Regions from separate parts of the Homo sapiens genome. Here region 2 is linked to region 1. Evidence: promoter capture Hi-C in human tissues and cell types (Jung and others, 2019). All regions are on one chromosome and are shown on one strand. The core of a region is centred on a gene start or on the middle of the fragment in contact, and the rest is flanking DNA. Distances in the headings are between cores, read along the strand shown. Region 1 holds the start of BMPER (BMP binding endothelial regulator). Region 2 overlaps BBS9 (Bardet-Biedl syndrome 9).

Region 1 (6,354 bases), core at 1,361-3,860:
GATGGCAGCAGTAGATGCATGGGAAAACATCTTGATAAGGCCTTGGAGAAAAGGCTGCTCTTTCGGAAGCAGGGCCCATTTGCCAAGAAGGCAGCAAGGGAAATCGCTGGTGGCAGAGGCTTATAACAAACAGGAAGAAGAGACAGGTTTGCCAAAGGCTTCTGTGCATTTTTCCCCTTCGCAAACTTTCAGACAGATGAAAATGTTTTTAAGGTGGTTTTTGGGTTTGCACCTACAGGGAGAGTTCCAGTGCATTCCAAAGCACCATGCTGCACATTATGGAAATGCCACACACAGCTAGATTCTATCATAAAGAAATTTGTCATGCAAATTCTGAGGATGTTTGGCTGGTGTCAGGGAGGGAAGGCATATCAAAGTAACTCAGGCACACCCTTCAAATGTCTTGCAATTTCATAGCATGCATTTATCCAAATTTATGGCTAAGGCAACAAAAGGTCTCCCAGCTTCCTTATTCTTCAGCTTTCCATAATTAAATTATGATAAACAACTTTATCTAAAAGCCTCATCCAGGGACAATCTTTTTAGATAGAGGAGATAGTGGTTCCAACTGATTGTACTTATCTGCAGCAATAAAGGTTTCTATTTATTTAATTTTTAATTTTAATTTTATTTATTTTTTAATGAGTCCCTGGGAAGTAAGGCTGGATTTAGAGATTTTTCTCTTTTTGCATATTATCTTTATGATTAGTAAATACATAAACACACTGGTTTCCGAGAAGCTGCCTGGCCATGGCTTTATTTGGGTGGGGGGAGGGAGGGAAGGAATCACACATCAGCCTTCTCTTTCAATTTAAATTTTACGGTAAGAATCTATTTTGGGAGGGAAATGGAGCATGCTAAGCTAATGACAGTTTTCCCTTCTCTTATTTTTCCCACGTCACAGCAACGTGCTCGCATCAGCTCCTCGGTGTGTCGCGATGTTGGCAATGTTGCACTAATTAAGTGAAGTCTCCAAATCACTCGAAAAAACGAATAAACAGTCAACGAGGCAGGGAAGGGTTAAGGTGAAGCTAGATTAAACCTGTCAGCAAACAGACTCATTTATTTTCAAAGCTGTAGTTTCCACAATGGAAACAACCCACTTTGCCTGGAGACCCTTAGGTCCGTTCCGTGGGGACCCGGTTTCAACTCTTGGACAGAGGAAGTCGGTAGTCCACCGTGAGCTCAAGGACAGCTAGCTGATCGTCAGGTCCCAACACTTGCCAAGCGTCCCTCACTCCCACCTCGCGCCTTCGTACTTTGGTTACAAAAATCATCTCTCTGCGATTGCACCCCTTTTGAGTAGAGGGTGCCACTGCGTGGGGAGGAGGCGGCGATTCAGCAGGGGGATCACAGGAGCTGACTCCCCGACACCCAGTGCTGCAGAGGCGAGAGGGCGCAGCCGGGCTGAGAGAGCGACGGAGCTCCGAGCTGCAGAGGCCGCCGCGCGGCGGCCCCCGCCAGAGATGAGCGGTGGGGCGGGGGTTCCTCCCTCTTTTCGGGTGAATGAATGATTAGTCAAACACCACCTCCCCGCCCCGGTCCGCCCGAGATTGGAAGGGAGGAGTCTCGGAGCGACTGTTCATTTTTTAAGGACGAAAGGCGTTTGCCTCGGTACGTTTTTAAATCGACCTTGTGTGTGTTTCAACTTCGGTCATCCCTAGTGTCAGGACGCGCAGACAGCTAAGCACAGAACACATCTCTAAGGCCACTTGCCCCTCTGTCCGCTCAGCCCCCTGAGTTCGCTGTCGCGCCCCCGCCAGAGGGAAGCAAAGCAGGGCATGAAAAGTTGCGGGGGCCCTACTGCCCCGGGTGTGTCGCTCCTTCCCAAAGGTGGGGCACCCGGGAGCGAGCAGGGTGGTGGGGCGCCCCTGCGTCCCGTTTGCTGCTCCCTCGCTGGATTGGGGCACCCGGGCCTGAGCGCTAGTGCTGCGGCATCCCCGGGGCTCCCCCAAGAAAGGGAGGAGGAGCCGCGCTCGCCCGGACAGTGGAGACGCGCCTTCTCGGCTCTGGTCCGCGCCCTGGGGCCCTGGCCTCCCTGGAGGGGCTGGGGAACTGGAAGCTGGGCCGAGAGAGTTCCCGCTGCAGCTATCGCGCAGTCCCTCCTGCGCCCGGGCGCCCCCAGCGGGTTCCGGGAGGCGCCCGGTGAGCCCACGTCTGTTGCGGCGGAGCGAGCGCGCTCCGGGAGGGCCGAGAGCCGGCGGGGCTGGCAGGAGGTGAGGAGTGCGGGAGTGGAGGACGCTGCGGCAGCGACAGCGACAGCCCCCGAAACAGTAGCGGCAGCCCGGGCGGCGGCTGAGCGGCAGTGCGCAGTCGGCAGCGCCGCAGCTCCTCTCAGTCTATCTCCGGCTGCCGCAACACCCCTTCCTCCTGGCCCCCTCTCCGGCGCTGAGGGGCTGACTGCTAAGCCACTGCAAGCAACTCCCTCAGGAAAAAAAAAAAAAAAGCCGCATCGGAGGAGCCTGGCCGCAGGACCCCTCCTCCCCGGGCGCCCCCACACCTTGGTCTCTCCCCCCGCCCTCCCTCACACCCCCCCGCCCCCCAGCTCTCGGGCGCCCGCCTCCCTCCTTCGCGGACGGTCTCCCGACACGCCGGCTGAGAGCCCTTTTCGACTGTGAGCTGCGGCAGCTGAGCAGAGGCGGCGGCGCGGGACCTGCAGTCGCCAGGGATTCCCTCCAGGTGACGATGCTCTGGTTCTCCGGCGTCGGGGCTCTGGCTGAGCGTTACTGCCGCCGCTCGCCTGGGATTACGTGCTGCGTCTTGCTGCTACTCAATTGCTCGGGGGTCCCCATGTCTCTGGCTTCCTCCTTCTTGACAGGTAGGGGAGGGGGCGGGAGGGACCGGCCCTCCGGGACGCCGGTTTGGTACCTGGGAAAGGTGGCGCTGGCTTGCCCCGGGGATGGGAGGGTGGGGAGCGCGCACCTTGGCGCTTGCCCTGCGCTGGTCGATGGGGATGAAGCGAAGCCCCGGGAGGGCTGGGAAGGCTGGTGAAGAGGTTGCGGGCTGAGAGGCTGTTGCCTTCAATGTAGTAATAATAGACATTCTTCTATTTGAATTTGAGAAATTATTTTATTTATTTTTAATGCTTTCCTCAACTTTTATTTTAATCTTTCCCTCTGTAGAACTCAGGAAAAAAATTTGTGCAGTTTTCCGCACATCTTCCTTTCTCATCTTTGGGGTTGCAATACATCCACTGTGCTAGGAGTGCTTTTTAAAGCACTGGCTCTCAAGACCTTGAATTTAAAGAAACTATCATTTAAAAAGGGCACTAATAGCCGGATATAATAATTATATGTTTTCAGGCAGGTGAAGACCTCAGCTGCTATTCTGAAGGACATACTTTACTGACACCTGGTGCAGAAAAGAAAATATGGAGTCAATTTCTAAGAGAAGGGAAAAGGGGATTGCGTTTCAAAAAGTGATTTAAACCTAAGACAATGCGAGACAGATTCATAGAAAGGCCTGTTTATTGACTCAGTTCTGAGTTTTGGTCAATTTAAAATCTGCCCCAATTTGAGGGTTTTTTTAAATTTTATTTTTTATTTTTTTCTTTGCGTATGGGGCTGTGTGCTTAGTTGAAATATCTTCATAAAGGAGGAGTGTTATTAAAAATCCAGTGAAATACTTGGAATTGTGCTTAGACCATCTGAGAACAGATAATTTATCCCTATATCATAGTCTTTTCTTTTTTGAACCTGTTTAAATAAAATTATTGAAAATGGAGTTGGGGGCAGAGGTTTTGCTTTGGTGAATTTAATAATTTAAACCACATTAAGAATTCTGAAGTTTGGGTAGAGGTTTCAAAAAGGATTAGTGTAAAAATTTTAAATGTTGAAATCATGCTGCTAAGCTAACTTTAAATGAAACATTTTTCCCCCCTGAATTTCAGGTTCTGTTGCAAAATGTGAAAATGAAGGTGAAGTCCTCCAGATTCCATTTATCACAGACAACCCTTGCATAATGTGTGTCTGCTTGGTAAGTGTGGAGATCAGGTAATATGAACTCAACTGCTCTCTCTGATAAGGTGAATCCATTAAATGTGATAATATAACCAGATCTTACAAATTGTCTTTATCATTACAAAATTGCACATAACTGTACATAGTTTGTGAGTTGAATCCAGTTAATTTCTGAGTTTTATGGACTTTGGCAATTTCCATTTCATCCAGCTGGAAATTCTTATCTTTGACATCATCCTTATAGACGTAAATTTCAGATAGGCTTTGTATGACGTCTCGGTGAAATGACAGTTTGTAATGTCTGTTTCCAGTAATGATTACTACAACCAAATTCTTGGGACAACAAAACTTTCTGCGTTGGTTCTGTCATTTAAGCTCAGTGGGAAAATGATGAGATAAGATTTAAGTATGAAGGTCAGGAATAAGGTATGCGACAAAGGGAAAGAGAGGTGACAGCCACAAAAAACAAACATAAGGACAAGATGTAATTCTGGATTTCTTTCTCGGGTTTCTTTGCCTGTTATACCCTAAACCCTCAAATACTGTCTTTATTTCTGATTTGGAAGCATGAGTCGGAAAGGACAATTCCATCCTTAATAGAGAATGACACTTGGCTGTCAGCTGCTTAGTTAACACTATCAGTGGTTAGAAGACTCAAAAAATAATTTGTTTCCATTTATTTTAGTTTAGTAGTTAATGATAAGTCTAATAAGTAACCACTTGGGGGAGATTAAGTAATGTGAATAAGAATTTCTGAGATGAAATATAGACCTACAAGGTAAACATTTTTGCTTAGGAGTGTTTTACATGCCAATCACTTTTGGCAAAATTTGGTTAGAAACTACACATTATAAAACCTTGTTGGAAATACATTAAGGCAGTCAAATGCAAAGCCCCAGAATGATAGAGGACTACTTGTTGCTAGATCAGCATGCTGTGTGGCGCTGGAGAAGGAATTCATTTCGGTTTAGGCAAAAGCCAAGCTATCTGAGTTTATACTACATAAATTTTTTCATGACAAGAGTTGAGGTCAATGTTTTGAAGTGATAAATGGGTGAAGGTAAATGGCTGTATCAAACAATTATCAGGTTCGGAAGACTAAGGAAATCAACAGAAACAAGTAAAAACGCACTGCGTTTGCTGACACAATAAATATTGCTGCCTAATAAAACAGAGCTGAGAGAGGGTGTATTATGATTGCATATTTATGGGTTGCTGTGTTCATTGATGATCTTTTAGTAAATAATTTGTTGAAAAGAAGCTTTCAGTTTAAATTTTGACTCAGTTGTAGATTTACAAATGCAGTGTGTGTGTATGTGTGTTTAATCTTCCTTTTTTATTTTTCTTATCTGTGTAATGTGAGTGAATTATTTTATCTTAATCTATTAAGATTTCAGAGGAAATTACCTTGACCAAGTAATATTTAAATGTGCCGAGAGCTTTGCATATAAATATATTGTTTTCACTTCAGCAATATTAGTACTTATCAAGCTTACGTATGTAGTTTGAGTTTTGTAAACTGTTCCCAAATAACATTATGAGAAATTCTCCCCACAGCATTCCCCCCTTTTCAGTACTCCTACCCCTGCTAAAAATAGTGCCTTTCTCTGAAAGTGGAGACTTAGTGATAAGAAGATAGATGTTAGAGTCCTGCAGTTTTGAAGGTAAAGATTACATCTGAAAAGATGCATCAGTTGGAATTCAAGTGGGAGTGATATTTATTACAGAAAAGTATCAATTAAATTCAGAAGGGCAGTAGGTTTATTTATGTCTTCAACATTTAAGTAACAGTTGTAGGTATCTGCCTTGGGTGAGTGCTGTCAGAAATCCTTTCTAAATGTGTAATATTAGGACTTTGGCTATCAGCTTCACCCATTACAGAGCTCTTTCATTGGCTGAAAGGCTCAGTGATATGTTATCATGACCTTTGCAGGGGTTTAGAATTATGGGGTCCAAGTTGTCACAGTCATTGCTGCTTCCCAAACGTTTGTAATGACTTGGTAAAATTGAGTAATAATAGATGGATGACCACTTATCTCTTTGTATAACACTCTTGTACATTTCCACGAACCCACTGCAGTTCATGGATTTCAAAGCACTCCGGACAGCCAGGAAGCTACTTGGCATTTTTGTACCTAGGCTGGAAGGTAGACCTATTGAGCAAATTGATAATAATAGCAATGGTAAACATTTATGTGTACTATTTTTATTTTATTTTATTTTTGCTTGTAGGGCCTCATCTAAGCCTGCATTATTTCATTTAATCTTCACAAAACTCCTTTGAGGGCTTTTACCTTTATTTTACAGATGAGGAAACTGAGGCATAGGGGGCTAAGTAGCTTGTGAAGGTTGCATTTGAGTAAATAGTGGAGCCGAAACTGTCTCAGTTTTGTCT
Region 2 (6,354 bases), core at 1,742-4,241, 680 kb before region 1:
TTATAATTTTTATTATGTAACGGAAATACATTTAAAGGAAGAAATCTCCCTTTATCAGCTAGTAGGTTACCCAGAGATATATTCTTAGGAGAAAGGCAGAATAAATGCTTTGTTGTTTCCCTGTTTTCAAAATTCAGGGTTGGTTCTCTAGCATCCTTTGAAGATGACAAATTAGTAGTTGTTGTTTTCATATTATAATAAACTAATGGATTTAAATATGTGATGCCTTTCAATTTATTGATATTATTGTTATTATTTGTTTATATTTATTTTTTGAGACAAGGTCACACTCTTTTGCGCAGGCTTGAATACCGTGGCATAATCACAGCTCACTGTGGCCTTGACCTCCTGGGCTGAAGTGATCCTCCCGCCTCAGCCTCCCAAGTAGTTGGGACCACTGGTACCTGCTACCATGCCTAACTTTTTGAAATATTTTTTCATAGAGATGGGGTCTTGCTATGTTGCCCAGGCTGGTCTTGAACTCCTGGCCTCAAGCAGTCCTTCTACCTTGGCCTCCCAAAGTGCTGGGATTATGGACATGTGCCACTGCACTCATCTGAAGTTATTATTTTTGTTAATGTCAATATTGTACAATCTTTAGCCAAGGGAGCTTTTCCCAGTTGGTTCATCAACCCTTTTGACATAGCTTCAGTAGTCTTTGTTAGCTTTCTTGCTTCGTATTATGAGATGTTCCTGCCTCATCTTTTATATTTCCTCTCCCAGAACTGGAATCAGCCACTTCTTTAAGGAGCTTGGTTCTTTTTTTTTTTTTTTTTGTGGGAAATGGCATTTGAAGATCACAGTGTGGGTGCTGGTGGTGTTCAGTACTCCTGCTGGTTATTGCTTCTGCACTGTTGTGGTGGATAGAGTTAGGAAATATACATACTTAGTATTTAAAGGTAAACTATATTATGGGTTCATATTGATACTCCCAATTATGATGCAGACCTACAGACATTTTACTTATCCTCATTGATTTTACATACATATATGTACACATGTGTGTGCATATGCACACATTTGTATATATATTTGCTGGAAGATGTTTTTAGATAAGCACCTTCAGTGGTTTTGTCTTCCAACATAGCCAAAGGTACAGCACACTCCCTTTAGTAATAATGCCTTGGTGGCAATGATTCTCATTCTTAAGGGAAAAAAGATATAGAGGGGGAACCTATAGATTCTCACTGGTGAGTGATTGTCAGTGCAGTTTGAAAAGTGATCCTTACTCTTTCCCCTTGATAATTTGTGACCCAGAAGAGGAAAATTTCTCATCTCTATAGTGGAGATTTTTTTTTTCCAGGAGAATTTTGTCTATTAACATTGGAGATGATTTTTAATGGCTTTTTGATCATTAGATGATAATCTGCTTTAGAGTTTAAACAAATACACAGGTCTACTTTTGTTACACATTCTTGTGATTTTATATCTGATAGGTCTTTTATTGATAAGTGTTAGATAAGTGCTGCTGGATTATAGAAAACTCTTCTACTTTCAATGTTATATAGAACAAACAAAAGGATACAAAATATGGCTAGAATGGCTAGAATTAATACTCAAAACAATTAAAAAATTATGATCCAGCAACTCCACTCTGTGTATATGTCCAAAAGAAGTAAAAGCAGGGATTAGGAAAGATATTTATACATCCTTGTTCATTGCAGCATTATTCACAATAGCCAAAAGGTGGAAGCAACTCAAGTGTTCAATGGATAAGTGGATAAACAAAATATGGTGTATATGTACAATGGAATATTATTTGACCACAAAAAGAATGGAGTACTGATATATGCCATAACATGGATGAACCTTGGAGATATTATGTTAAGTGAAATAAGCCAGTCACAAAAAAGACAAATATTGTATGATTCTTTTTACATAAGGTTCTTAGAGTAGAGTAGTCAGATTTGTAGACCCAAAATTGAATGGTGGTTTCCAGGGGCTTGGGAAAGGATAATGGGGAGTAGTATTTGATAGATACAAACTTTTGCTTAGGAAAGATGAAAAAGTTATGGAGATGAATGGTGGTGGATTGCACAATGCACTTATGAATGTACCTAATGCCACAGAACTGTACATTCTAAAATGGTTAAAATGGTATATTTTACCACAATTTTTAAAAACCACATAGCACCAAAAAAGAGTGAATGAGTAAATTTCAAAAAGCTGTGTCAAGAATGATAATATATTATGTAATTTGTTTAGGGACCTTACAGCCATCAATTTTTTTTTTTTTTGAGACACAGTTTCACTCTGTTGCCCAGGCTGGAGTTCTCAGCTCACTGCAACCTCCGCCTTCCAGGTTCAAGTGATTCTCGTGCTTCAGTCTCCTGAGTAGCTGGGATTACAGGCACACGCCACCATGCCTGGCTAATTTTTGTATTTTTAGTAGAGATGGGGTTTCACCATGTTGGCCAGGCTAGTCTCAAACTCTTGACCTCAAGTGATCCCCTGCCTTGATCCTCCAAAGTGCTGAGATTACAGGTGTGAGCCACTGCACCCGGCCTAATCTTTTTTAAAAAATTAAAAAAAAGTTAATAGTTCTTTGGGAATGGGTGGTTTTTGGTTACATAGATAAGTTCTTTAGTGGCAATTTCTGGGATTTTGGTGCACCTGTCAGCTGAGCAGTATACAGTGTACTCAATATGTGGTCTTTCATCCTTCACCCCATTCCCAACCTTCCCCCTACCCCCAAAGTCCTCTATATCATTCCTATGCTTTTGCATCCTCATAACTTAGCTCCCACTTATGAGTGACAACATACGATATTTGGTTTTCTATTTCTGAATTACTTCACTTAGAATAATGGCCTCCAGCTCCATCCAAGTTGCTGCAAAAGACATTATTTTGTTCCTTTTTATGGCTCAGTAGTACTCCATGGTGTATATATACCATATTTTCTTTATCTACTTGTTGGTTAATGGGCACTTAGGCTGATTCTATATCTTTGCAATTGTGAATTGCATTGCTGATATAAACACACATGTTTATGACCATGTGTGCACATGTGTCTTTTTCATATAATGACTTCTTTTCCTTTGGGTAGATATCCAGTAGTGGCATTACTGGATTGAATGGTAGTTCTACTTTTAGTTCTTTAAAGAATTTCCATACTGTTTTCCATAGTGGTTGTACTAATTTACATTCTCACCAGCAGTGTAAAAGTGTTTCTTTTTCACCACATCCATGCCAATATCTATTATTTTTTGGCTTTTTAATTGTGGTCATTCTTGTAGAAATAAGGTGCTATATCTCATTGTGGTTTTAATTTGCATTTCCCTGATAATCAGTGATGTTGAGCATTTTTTCATGTTTGTTGACTGTTTGTATATCCTTTTTTGAGAATTGTCTATTCATGTCGTTTGCCCTTAAATCCTTCAATATTTATTTAGTTGAAGCAATTAAAAATAAAATAAATATTAATTTGAAATAAAAATCCTTAACAGCTAGATTATATTTTCTTTTATTCAAATTCAGAAACCTTTTCATTTTCTTTCTTCCAGAAGATTTAGTCACAAAAGGAAGAGGAATAACTTTCTCTATACAGTTGACCATTGAACAGTGTGGGGGTTAGGGATGCTGACCCCTCCTTTAAGTCAAATATCCACGTATAACTTTTGACTCCCCCGAAAATTAACTATTATTAGCCTACTGTTGCCTTACTGATAACATAAACAGTTGATTAACACATATTTTCTATGTTATTTGTGTTTTATATGGTATTCTTACAGTAAAGTCAGCTATAGTAAAAAAGTTATTAAGAAAATCATAAGGAAGGGAAAATATATTTACAGTTCATTGAGTCTAAGTGGGTTATTATACAGGTCTTCATCTTTGTCATCTTCACGTTGAATAGGCTGGGGAGGAGGAGAAAGAGGAGGTGACCCCTCTTCAGGTAACCCCAATTTTGCTGTCTCAGGGGTGGCAGAGGTGGAAGAAACTCCACGTATAAGGGGACCCACACAGTTCAAACAGTTGTTGTTCAAGGGTCAGCTGTATTTTTATATCTCCTGACATGAAGTTATAATTTGTTTTTGAGATGTACAGAGGGAAATGAAAACAGAGAATTAAAATTGAGGATGAAGACTTAGGCTTTATTTATTTTAACTTTCAAAAGTAAATTTTATTATGTATATTTAAGGTATACAACATGATTTATGAGTTACATATAGGTATTAAAAAGATTACTATAGTGAAACAAATTAACATATCCATCATCTCACTTAGTTACCCATTTTTCTTTCATTTCTGTGGCAAGAGCAGCTAAAATCTACTCATTTAGCATAAATCCCAAATACAATATAATTTTATTATCTATAGTCTTCATGTTTTACATTAGTTCTCTAGACCTGTTTATTGTACATATCTGCTACTTTTTATACTCTGACTTCATATCCTTGTATACTTCTAATTTCTAATTGTGTATTCTGTCTCCCCATTTTCTCCCCCTGCCATCTGCCCCTGGAAACCACTGTTTTGTTCTATGTATTGGAGTTTTGTTTTGTTTTGCTTTTTTTACATTCTGCATATAAGTGAGAACATGCAATGTATTTTTTTCTGTGTCTGGCTTATTTCCTTTTGCATAATATCCTCCATGTTGATCCATGTTGTGGCAAATGGCAAGATCCCATTCTTTCTTAGATAACAAATATTTATAGTAATACAATAATAATATTCCATTATAACTATATACCACAGTTTCTTTATCCATTTGTCCACTGATGCACACTTATGTTGTTTCCATATCATGGCTATTGTGAATAATGCCGCAATAAACATGGAAGTGCAAATGTCTTTGCAAGATGGTGATTTCATTTCATTTGGGTATATGCCCCGAAAAGGGATTTCTGGGTCATGTGATCATTCTATTTTTAATTTTTTTGGAAACCTCCATCCTATTTTCCATAATGGCTATATCAATTTACATTTCCACCAACGGTATACAAGAGTTCCCCTTTCTCTACACCACTGCCAACATTTGTTGTTTTTTGCCTTTTTGATAATAGCCATCTAACGGGTGTGAGGAACTATCTCATAGTGGTTTTGATTTGCAGTTCCCTGATGATTAATGATGTTGAGCACCTTATCATATACGTCTTGGCCATTTGTATGTCTTCTTTGGAGAAATGTCTATTTATGTCTTTTGCCCATTTAAAAATCAGATTGTTTTGATACTATTGAATTGTATAAGTTCTTTATAAATTTTGGATATTCACTCCTTGTGAGATATATGGTTTGTAAATATTTTTCCCAGCCTGTAGGCTACCATTTCGTTGATTGTTTCCTTTGCTGTATAGAAGCTTTTTAGTTTGACTGTAGTCTGATTTATTTATTTTTGCTTTTGTGGCCTTCTCTTTTGGTGTGATTTCCAAGAAATCATTGCCAAGGCCAATGTCCAGGAGCTTTCCCACTGTGTTCTCTTAGAGAAGTTTTATAGTTCCTGGTCTTATATTTAGGTCTTTTATCCATTACATTTTTTAAAAAAAATTTTCAATAACTTTAGAGGTATAAGTGTTTTTGCTTACATGGATGAATTGTATAGCGAGTAGTGAAGTTTAGGATTTTAGTGTACCCTTTACCCAAATAGTGCACATTGCACCCAACAGGTAGTTTTTCATCCTTCACCTCCCTTCCGCCCTGCCTGCTTCTGAGTCTGCAATGTCTAGTGTACCACTCTGTACACCTTTGTGTTCCCGTGGGTTAACTCCCACTTATAAGTGAGAACTTGTGGTATTTGGTTTTCTGTTCCTGAGTTACTTCACTAAGGATAATGGCCTCCATTTCCAATGAAGTTGCTGCAAAAGACATTATTTTGTTCTTTATGACTGAGTAGTATTCTATGATGTATATATAGCACATTTTCTTTATCCACTCATTAATTGATAGGGACTTAGGTTGATTCCATATCTTTACAACTGTGAATTGTGCTGCAATAAACATATGCATGCAGGTGTGTTTTTTATGTAATGACTTATTTTCCTTCGGGTAGATACCCAGGATAGTGGGATTGCTGGGTCTTATGGTATATCTGCTTTTAGTTCTTTGAGAGATCTTCATATTGTTTTCCATAGAAGTCGTACTAATTTATATTCCCACCAGCAGAGTACAAGTGTTCCCTTTTCACCACATCTGTGCCGATATCTATTCTTTTATCCATTTTGGATTGATTTTTGTGTATAGTGTAAGATGAACCCAATTTCCTTCTTTAGCTTGTGGGAATTCTGTTTTTCTGTCACCCTTTTTTTTTGAGATGGGGTCTCACTATGTTGCCCAGGTTGGCCATGAACTCCTGAGGTCATGTGATCCTCCTTCCTCAGCCTCCTGAGTAGCTAGGACTACAGGCATGTGCCACTG

What was found. Contacts are between HindIII fragments. The study calls those that stand out against the background at their distance.
Region 2: a contact is called between a fragment that was not itself captured here and the fragment with the promoter of BMPER in region 1, in 4 of the 25 tissues and cell types used here (dorsolateral prefrontal cortex, hippocampus, mesenchymal stem cells and 1 more).

Annotation. Positions count from the first base shown.
Region 1 is chr7:33,902,929-33,909,282 of GRCh38, forward strand. It overlaps BMPER (BMP binding endothelial regulator), which reads left to right and starts at 2,611. Exons shown (of 15, transcript NM_001365308.1): 1 at 2,611-2,818; 2 at 3,890-3,975. The coding sequence starts at 2,686. The HindIII fragment of the contact is 7,840 bases long and covers 1-6,161 here.
Region 2 is chr7:33,224,941-33,231,294 of GRCh38, forward strand. The region is part of intron 5 of BBS9 (Bardet-Biedl syndrome 9); the gene reads left to right. Among named protein-coding and RNA genes, the nearest start is that of BBS9, 99 kb to the left of the region's middle. The HindIII fragment of the contact is 7,781 bases long and covers 1-6,354 here.